Linked DNA regions of Homo sapiens: region 1 is linked to region 2. The links are contacts of gene promoters, found by promoter capture Hi-C in human tissues and cell types (Jung and others, 2019). All regions are on one chromosome and are shown on one strand. The core of a region is centred on a gene start or on the middle of the fragment in contact, and the rest is flanking DNA. Distances in the headings are between cores, read along the strand shown.

The links. The method cuts DNA at HindIII sites, captures the fragments that hold promoters and counts their contacts. A contact is called where the count stands out against the background at its distance.
Region 1: a fragment that was not itself captured here is called in contact with the fragment with the promoter of MIXL1 in region 2 in 2 of the 25 tissues and cell types used here (H1 embryonic stem cells and mesendoderm cells).

The regions. Positions count from the first base shown.
Region 1 is chr1:226,170,404-226,174,563 of GRCh38, reverse strand. The region is part of intron 1 of ACBD3 (acyl-CoA binding domain containing 3); the gene reads left to right. Among named protein-coding and RNA genes, the nearest start is that of ACBD3, 14 kb to the left of the region's middle. The HindIII fragment of the contact is 6,469 bases long and covers 1-4,160 here.
Region 2 is chr1:226,221,831-226,226,201 of GRCh38, reverse strand. It overlaps MIXL1 (Mix paired-like homeobox), which reads right to left and starts at 2,538. Exons shown (of 2, transcript NM_031944.3): 1 at 2,128-2,538; 2 at 1-695. The coding sequence starts at 2,520. The coding sequence ends at 390. It overlaps LOC124904528 (a long non-coding RNA gene), which reads right to left and starts at 4,063. Exons shown (of 2, transcript XR_007066907.1): 1 at 3,978-4,063; 2 at 3,704-3,863. RefSeq lists a silencer at 1,820-2,114 and an enhancer at 2,160-2,219. The HindIII fragment of the contact is 15,954 bases long and covers 1-4,371 here.

The sequences.
Region 1 (4,160 bases), core at 254-2,753, 51 kb after region 2:
CGAACTCCTGACCTCAGGTGATCCACTTGCCCTGGCCTCCCAAAGTGCTGGGATTACAGGCGTGAGCCACCACACCTGGCTTTTTCCAGGGTTCTCTAAATTGGCTTCCTTATTCCTTTTAGTGTGGTTTCATTAAGGATCAGAGGTAATTGTCTGTGTTCAATCTATCATGTTTAATTAGAGGTTTATCTGCATGTTTTCTTTTCCAAGCAGAATTTGTGTTTGGTTTTGTTTGCCATAGAAAGCAGAATTCCAAAATTGATTGAATTAAATAACTTTGTAATATTAATAATTAATGAGTGCAAGAGCCGAGGATGATGCTTGTGTTCCCTTCTGGGAGGACTGAAATAGAACTTTCCTTTAGGAATAGGGCCCTGGTTAAAGATTTTTGAGTTTCTACAAGGCTTTTTGTGTCTGTGCAGTTAGTGGTACTTATTATTTTCCTGCTAACTACATTTAACGTTTATGGTACCAGAAATAATTTAGAAGAAAATTATTCTTGGTTGGGTGCGGTGGCTCACACTGTAATCCCAGGTCTTCGGGGCTCTGAGGCAGGCGGATTACCTGATGTCAGGAGTTTTGAGACTAGCCCGGTCAACATGGTGAAACCCCTTCTGTACTAAAAATAAAAAAATTAGCTAGGTGTGGTAGTGCACACTTCTGTAATCCCAGCTACTGGGGAGGCTGAGGCAGGAGAATCACTTGAACCTGGGAGGTGGAAGTTGCAGTGAGTCGAGATCATCCCACTGCACTCCAGCCTGGGCAACAGAGTGAGACTCTGTCTCAAAAAAAAAAAAAAAAAAAAAGAAAAGAAAAAAAAAGAAGAAAATTATTCTCACCTGATTTAAAATACTAAACTCTTGTGATGTGTCAACCAGAGCCACCTGAAGAGTAAGAGAGCTGTAACCTTTTGTGTAATACTAATAGTCTGCATAGCAATATAGATTGTGAAGGATTTTTATTTTTCTGTGTTTTTTTTCTGAAGCTTAGAACTTCAGTACTGTGTGAACTGTGCTATACCGAAAGTGGTTGGGGTTAGCACAGCCTCCTGGGTTTTGTATATTCCTTGGGAGAATAATCTCTTAACCTCATCCCAAAGGCTGAAAATACATTGCTTCGACTTTAAAAATGTGTGTTAAAAAAGATAATGTGTATGTGTGTTTGATTACAAAGTACATATGCTTACTGAAAATTTGGGGAAATAAAAAATGAATAAATAAAATAAAATTAATTTGTAATACAGTCTTTCAAAAATAATTATTAGTATTAACATTTTGAATTTTGTTTCGTTTTGAGACAGGGTCTCACTCTGTCACTCAGGCTGGAGTGCAGTGGCACCATCATGGCTCACCACAGTCTCAATGCCCAAGATCAAGGGATCCTCTCATCTTGGCCACCCTAGTAGCTGGGACTGTGGTACACGCCACCATGCCCAGCTAAATTTTGGTTTTTTGTATGTGTGTGGAGACAGGATTTCACTTTGTTTCGCAGGCTGGTCTCAAACTCCTGGGCTCAAGCAATCCACCTGCCCTAGCTTTCCAAAGTGCCAGGATTATAGGCATGAGCCACCAGGCCCAGCTGGGTTTGTTTGTTTGTTTGTTTGTTGTTTAGACAGGGTCTTCATCTGTCACCCAGGCTGGAGTTCGGTGGTGCTTTCACAGTCTATTGGAGCCTCGACCTTCAGGCTCAAGCAATCCTGAGCCTCCAGAGAAGCCTGGACTTCAGGCGCATGCCGCCGCACCCAGCTGTATGCCACCACACCCAGCTGTTTTTTAGTTTTTTGTAGAGATGGGGTCTTGCAGTGTTGCCCAGGTTGGTCTCAAACTCCTGGACTCAAGTGATCCTCCCCCTTCAGCCTCCCAAAGTGTTGGGATTAGAGGTGTGAGCCACTGCACCTGGCTGTTTGTTTTCTTGATTTTTTTTTTGAGACAAATTTGGCTCTCATCTAGAAAAATTATTAATTTGGAGATTCAGTAGTAAGATTTAAAGAAAGGATTATAGAGCAATTATTTTTATTTTCTTCAGAGTCAGAATCTTAATGGATTGCCCAGGCTAGATTCTAACTTGTGGATTCAAATGATCTTCCTGTCTCAGCCTCCCAAGTAGGTGGGACTACAGGTGCATGCCACTGCAGCTGGCGATAGAGCAATTCTTAAAACTAGTACGTGCATAAAAGAGTAAATGGGAATGCAAGGACAGTTCACAAGAATGGATATACTGTTTTGTTCATTCTCACAGTAGTTGACCCATAAAGTCAATTTCTTTTGTGAGATTTGCTGGGCGTGTTTTTTGATGAGGGCCTGTGAACAAAAACGTAGGCTTAAGCACTGAAGTTCACAGAGGTCAGCGAATCTGTTTGCCTGACCAGGACTAGCACTGAAAATGTATTCCTCTTTTTTTTTTTTTTTGAGATGGAGTTTTGCTCTTGTTTCCCAGGCTGGAGTACAGTGGCACGATCTCGGCTCACTGCAACCTCCGCCTCCCAGGTTCAAGCAACTCTCCTGCTTTAGCGTCCCAAGTAGCTGGGATTATAGGTGTGCGCCAGCATGCCTGGCTAATTTTTGTATTTTCATTAGAGACGGGGTTTCTCATGTTAGTCAGGCTGATCTCAAACTCCTGACCTCAGGTGATCCACCCGCCCCAGCCTCCCAAAGTGCCGGGATTACAGGCATGAGCCACCGTGTGTGGCCACATATTCTTCTTTTTAAAAACACATTTATTGGCCAGGCACGGTGGCTCACGTCTGTAATCCCAGCATTTTGGGAAGCTGAGGCGGGCAGATCACCTGAGGTCAGGAGTTCAGGACCAGCCTGGCCAACCCAACATGGTGAAACCCCATCTCTGTGAAAAATACAAAAATTAGCCAGGCACGGTGGCGCACACCTGTAGTCCCAGCTACTCAGGAGGCTGAGGCACAAGAATCGCTTGAGCCCGGGAGGCAGAAGTTGCAGTGAGCCGAGATCACGCCACTGTGCTCCATCGTGGGTAACAGAGCAAGACTTCATCTCAAAATAATAAATAAATAAATATACTTTTTAAGTTTGCACTGTATTTTTAATTCTGTCAGGTGTAAAAAGGGCAGACGTTAAAATAACATCCAAAAGTACTGAAACTCGACCAGGCACAGTGGCTCACACCTGTAATCCCAGCATTTTGGGAGGCCAAGGTGGGTGGATCACCTGAGATCAGGAGTTCGAGACCAGCCTGGCCAACATGGTAAAACCTCGTCCCTACTAAAAAGTACAAAAAGTAGCCAGGCGTGGTGGTGCATGCCTGTAATTCCAGCTACTTGGGAGGCTGAGGCAGGAGAATCCCTTGAACCAGGGAGATGGAGGTTGCAGTGAGCCGAGATTGTGCCACCACACTCCAGCCTGGGTGACAGAGCGAGAGTCTGTCTCAGAAAAAAAAAAAATTGTTTACTTACCATCCCTCAAAGACCCTGCGCCTAGTTCACATTATCAAATGCTTGAAATAAAGAGACAAGTTGGCCAGGCATGGTGGCTCGTGTCTATAATCCCAGCACTTTGGAAGCCTAGGGCGATTGATTACTTGAAGCCAGGAGCTCGAGACCAACCTGGGTAACATGGCAAAACCCTCTGTCTACAAAAACACAAAAATTAACTGGGCATAGTGGCACTCACCAGTAGTTCCAGCTACTCAGGAGGCTGAGGTGGGAGAATCCCTTGAGCCCAGGAGTTCAAGGCTGCAGTGAGCTGTGATCGTGCCACTGCCCTCCAGCCTGGGTGACAGAGTGAGAACCTGTCTCAAAAAGAAGCAAACGTATCATCTGGTAGGAAATGAACCCTCCCTCCATTAGTAGAAAACCCAAATAGCAGTATTTTACAGATAACTTTATAGCAATAGTCAGGGATTTCAAAAAATTTTTTTCATATCCACTTGCCCCATCTATTAGTTCAAATCATCTTCCTGCAGCAAAAAAAAATTTTGTGTGTGTGTATGTTCGAAATTGCTGTTTTGCATGACTAATCAGAAAAGTTGTCTTCAGGTGAATAGTTTCCATGTGATTTTATCTTTACTGACATTTATTTAGATAAAACTACTTAATTGAGTTTATTCTTAAAAAAAGAAAGGCCGAGCACGGTGGCTCACGTCTGTAATCTCAGCACTTTGGGAGGCCCAGGTGGGCAGATCACGAGGTC
Region 2 (4,371 bases), core at 1,289-3,788:
GAGAAAATGGCAGCTGTCAAACACAAGGGGAAACTGAGTCAAGCTGAGGCATTCTTGTGAAGAAAATAATGAGTTCTGAACAACCAGTCCAAAAACTAAAAACAGGCCTGGCAAGAAGGCATAGGGATGCAGACCAATGGAATGTGCAGGCTTGGAGAGAACACAGGTAAAAACGAATGCGGGAACTCTGGGGTGGGAGTGTGGGCTTAAAACGTCATTGACAAAGTGGCGGGGTACCTTCAAATGTGAGAGGTGCTGTCAAAACCATCATCAAGGTTAACAAGGACATGTCCTTAGCATGGAAGTCAGAAAGGACAGTATGCTGATGTGTCTCTCCCAGGCTGTCAGTCATGGCTCCTCAGAGCTTATCCCGAATTCTCCCAGAATCCTCAAAAGTTACCAAAGGCAGAAAAGATGTGTTCCTCCCATGAGTCCAGCTTTGAACCAATGTCTTCAGAGAGAGGGGAACAGGTTTCAAAATTCTGACCTTGGGAGCTAGAGTCAGAGATGCCCCCTCCAACCCCGTTTGGTTCGGGCAGGCAGTTCACATCTACCTCAAGAGGCAGCTGGGGCTTCAGACATTTCGTTTCAGTTCCAGGAGCACAGTGGTTGAGGATAATCTCCGGCCTAGCCAAAGGTTGGAAGGATTTCCCACTCTGACGCCGAGACTTGGCACGCCTGTTCTGGAACCATACCTGGAAGAGGGGAGAAAATAAAAGCTGCTTTTGGTTGGAGTTTTTTATGCTAACATTATGTTCACAGTTCATACTGGTAAGTTCCAGTTTAACATCCCCTGGCTTCCTCTCCAGAGCCTTGTCTTCAGAAAGCACTTGGGTTGACGATTAGAAGTTCAGAACACCTGGCTTTCCTTGCCTCCCCATTCCCAGATGGAAACATTGGAATAATGCCTAGTTCTATCTACTCTTTAGTTAGAGAAATTTTCATGAAAAATGGGGTCACAAAAATGGAAGCACTTAGAATTCTTAGAAAAAAACTGCATTAAATTATGAAGAAAACCTGTTTTTTAAGGTCTGCACTCCCTTGTCAAACTAATCAAGGAGGTATTTTGCTCATGCCAGCTGTTGAGACTGACAGCTGTATGACCGCCAGGGGTGCAGAGAAAACAAGTCCACTCTCCCAGTGTTTAAATGAGGGCTGCTACTTAAAACTGCGCTTGGACACCGACCACGGGGCTACAGACAGACAAAAAGGCAGGCTTCTCCTTACCAACTCTAAGATTCTGATCTAAATTACTTTAGATAATAAACACGGCCGGGCGCGGTGGCTCACGCCTGTAATCCCAGCACTTTGAGGCGGGTGGATCACCTGAGGTCAGGAGTTCGAAACCAGCCTGACCAACATGGTAAAACCCCGTCTCTACTAAAAATACAAAAATTAGCTGGGCGTGGTGGCTGGCGCCTGTAATCTCAGCTACTCGGGAGGCTGAGGCAGGAGAATCACTTGAACCTGGGAGGCGGAGGTTGCAGTGAGCCCAGATCGCGCCATTGCACTCCAGCCTGGGCAACAAGAGTTAAAACTCCATCTCAAATAAAAACTAAATAAATAAAAATAAACACACCTTGCACTAGATTTTTCAAACTGAAAACAAGCTCCAGGTGCTTCTCGCTTTATCTCAATTCGCTACATCCTTTCAAATCTAATCCCAAAACGTAACACTTGCCAAGAAAGTAGCATGGGGGTAACTTGGCGAGCCAGCCTTCCCCGTTTTCAGCTACCATTCTCACGCTCAAAGCCAGAGGAAAACCCCAACTGCCCCTCATCTGTGTCTTCTTCCCGGATAAAGAAAAAGTGTAAAACTTCTTATCTTCCTGCTGGGAATTACTTTCTGGCCATTTCAGGGGACCGGCTAGCCTCCTAGGAGCCCTTATTATATTTAATAATGAGAGAAATCGTTCAGTGCAGGCCTAAATTATTTCACACAGGCCTCGCAACCACCCTATGCAGCAGGTGCCGATATCACCCCCTATTTCAGTCTAGTACGCAGAGCCTCAGGGGAAGCACCGTGCCTGCAACGTCCCGGGTGTGGCCTCAGGAGCCCGCAGTCCAGACCTAGAGTCCGCAGCGCCTCCGCTCCAGCGCGCACTTGCGAACGCAGCGGGCCCTCACCTGGATCCTGGACTCGGGGAGCAGGGTGAGCGCGGCCAGGCGCTCGCGCAAGTGGATGTCGGGGTACCGGGTCCGGCGGAAGACGAGCTCCAGCAGCTGCAGCTGTTCGGCGCTGAAAGACGTGCGCTTGCGGCGCTGCGACGCCGACGGGGCGGCCGCGCCTTTGGGGGGCGCAGGCGAGCCCAGGCTGGCGGGGGGCGGCGGGGCCGGCCCGGGGTCCCGGCCGAGGAAGCCCGCAAAGGTCGCTGGGCCGGGGCCCGCGGGCGGCGCAGGGAGCAGGGCTGCCGCAGGGCTCGGGGGCGGCAGGAGCGCCCCGCCGGCGTGGGGGGCCCGGTACGCTGGAAACGCGGCGCCCTCGGCAAACTGGAGCGCACGGGACTCGGCTGTGGCCATCGCTCCGGAACCCAGCGCGCCGCTCGGAGGGGCGCGGGCCGCACTTATACCCTCCCGGGCCAGGGGCTGGGAAGGCGGGGCGGTGCGATCAAAGGTGGGCTCGGGGAGACCCGTGTCTCCTCCGGGTGCGAGCCCGCCCCCGGCCCCGCCAGACGCCGGGGAATAATCGCTTCCGCCGGCTGCGGGATGCAGGAGGGAGGCGTGAACTTGGGTCCCGGCCCCCTCCGTGTTCTTCCCCGCCCACCCGCCCGGACGGCGCAATCCACATCCCCGAAGGACTATTTGCCTGGGAGGGGCAGCCCGGAGGGGCCCGGGTGCGCGGGCCGCAGGCGACAGAACTCTCTTCTCCGGGTCAAATCCCCGTTAAGAGCGGCGGAAGCACCTTGCCTGGCCTGTGCCTTACATGGCCTGGGCCTTGAGCCTTGCCCTAGTCCCGTCTGTCCTCATCAAAGCTATTTATTTACCACCCCTGCTATGTGCTAGACCCTGTACCAGGTTGGTCAAACAGCCCGGCCCCTGTCTTCTGCAAGCCTCCCTAACACATCCTGAATCCAAGCGGGGAGGGGGGTGAAGATAAAGGATCCAGGGGGCAGCACATTCCTCCTGATTAAATGGGTGGGGGGAGTGGGGGGGTCTGGCTGGAATGTCCATGGGCCCACCAATAAAGATACCCTAGGTAGGGCGGGGTTGGCAACGTGCCCCATTAGCAGAGGATACGGCGCAGTTTGGCCTTTCTGGAGATACTCAACAATGCTTAAGACCCGTCTATTGGATGGGAGGAGATGAAAGCCACCTCATGAAGTTTCCACGCGCCCTGAATCATCATTCTTTCCTCTGCCCCTTGGGGCTCTGAAAGCTCCCATTTTCTCTACTTTGTGCTATGGTTATGGTTTCTCTATCTGCTAGATATAAAGTCTTAGCAAGCAGGAACCCACCTCTCCCTTTCTGAGTTTATTGAGTGTCTGCTTTGTACACCTATTCTGCGTGAGGCGCGGTGCTAGGCCCCTTAGTGAATGTCTGTCGAATTGGATGTCACTGAGCTCTCCTTATTGAAAGAGAAACCCATGGTCCACTATGGGAACTGCCCCACCACAGTGCAAGAACTCAAGAGAGGAACACAGAGGCCCAGGTCTTTTTGCCCCCAGCACCTGAGCGCTGATTTCACCGGGATCACTCACTGTGGTCGACTCAAAGGGAGATCTTTATTGGGAGGATCTTTCAGGGCACAATCCCCGTCCTGTCTCTGCATTCTAGAAGGTCAAAAGACAGTCTCAGAAGAGCTTGGATCTTTTTATCCTGGGTGGACATTCCAGGTGGCAAAGCGGAAAGTTTTCTTGGAGCTGCTGCAGAGAAGAATTTTGGGCTTGATTCTCTCCTGGCTGTGGTAAGGGGTGGGGTTGGCAGGGACTGTGTCCTGTGTAGCCCCTGAGGCCCTTCTGGGCAGCTGATATACTTACCTCCTGCTCTTCCATCTTCCTTCCACCCCTTCTCCTTTCTTTCCCCCTCTTCTCTTGGTTGCAGTGAGCCAAGATTGTGCCATTGCACTCCAGCCTGGGCAACAAGAGTGAAACTCTGACTCAGAAAAAAAAAAAAAAGTTAATTCCCCAGCATCTCCAAAACAGCCAACATCCATTGGCCAGGTGCAGTGGCTCATGCCTGTAATCCCAGCACTTTGGGAGGCTGAGGCGGGCGGATCACCAGGTCAGGAGATCGAGACTATCCTGGCTAACACGGTGAAACCCCGTCTCTACTAAAAATACAAAAAAAAAAATTAGCCGAGCATGGTGGTGGGCACCTGTAGTCCCAGCTACTCAGGAGGCTGAGGCAGGAGAATGGCGTGAACCTGGGAGG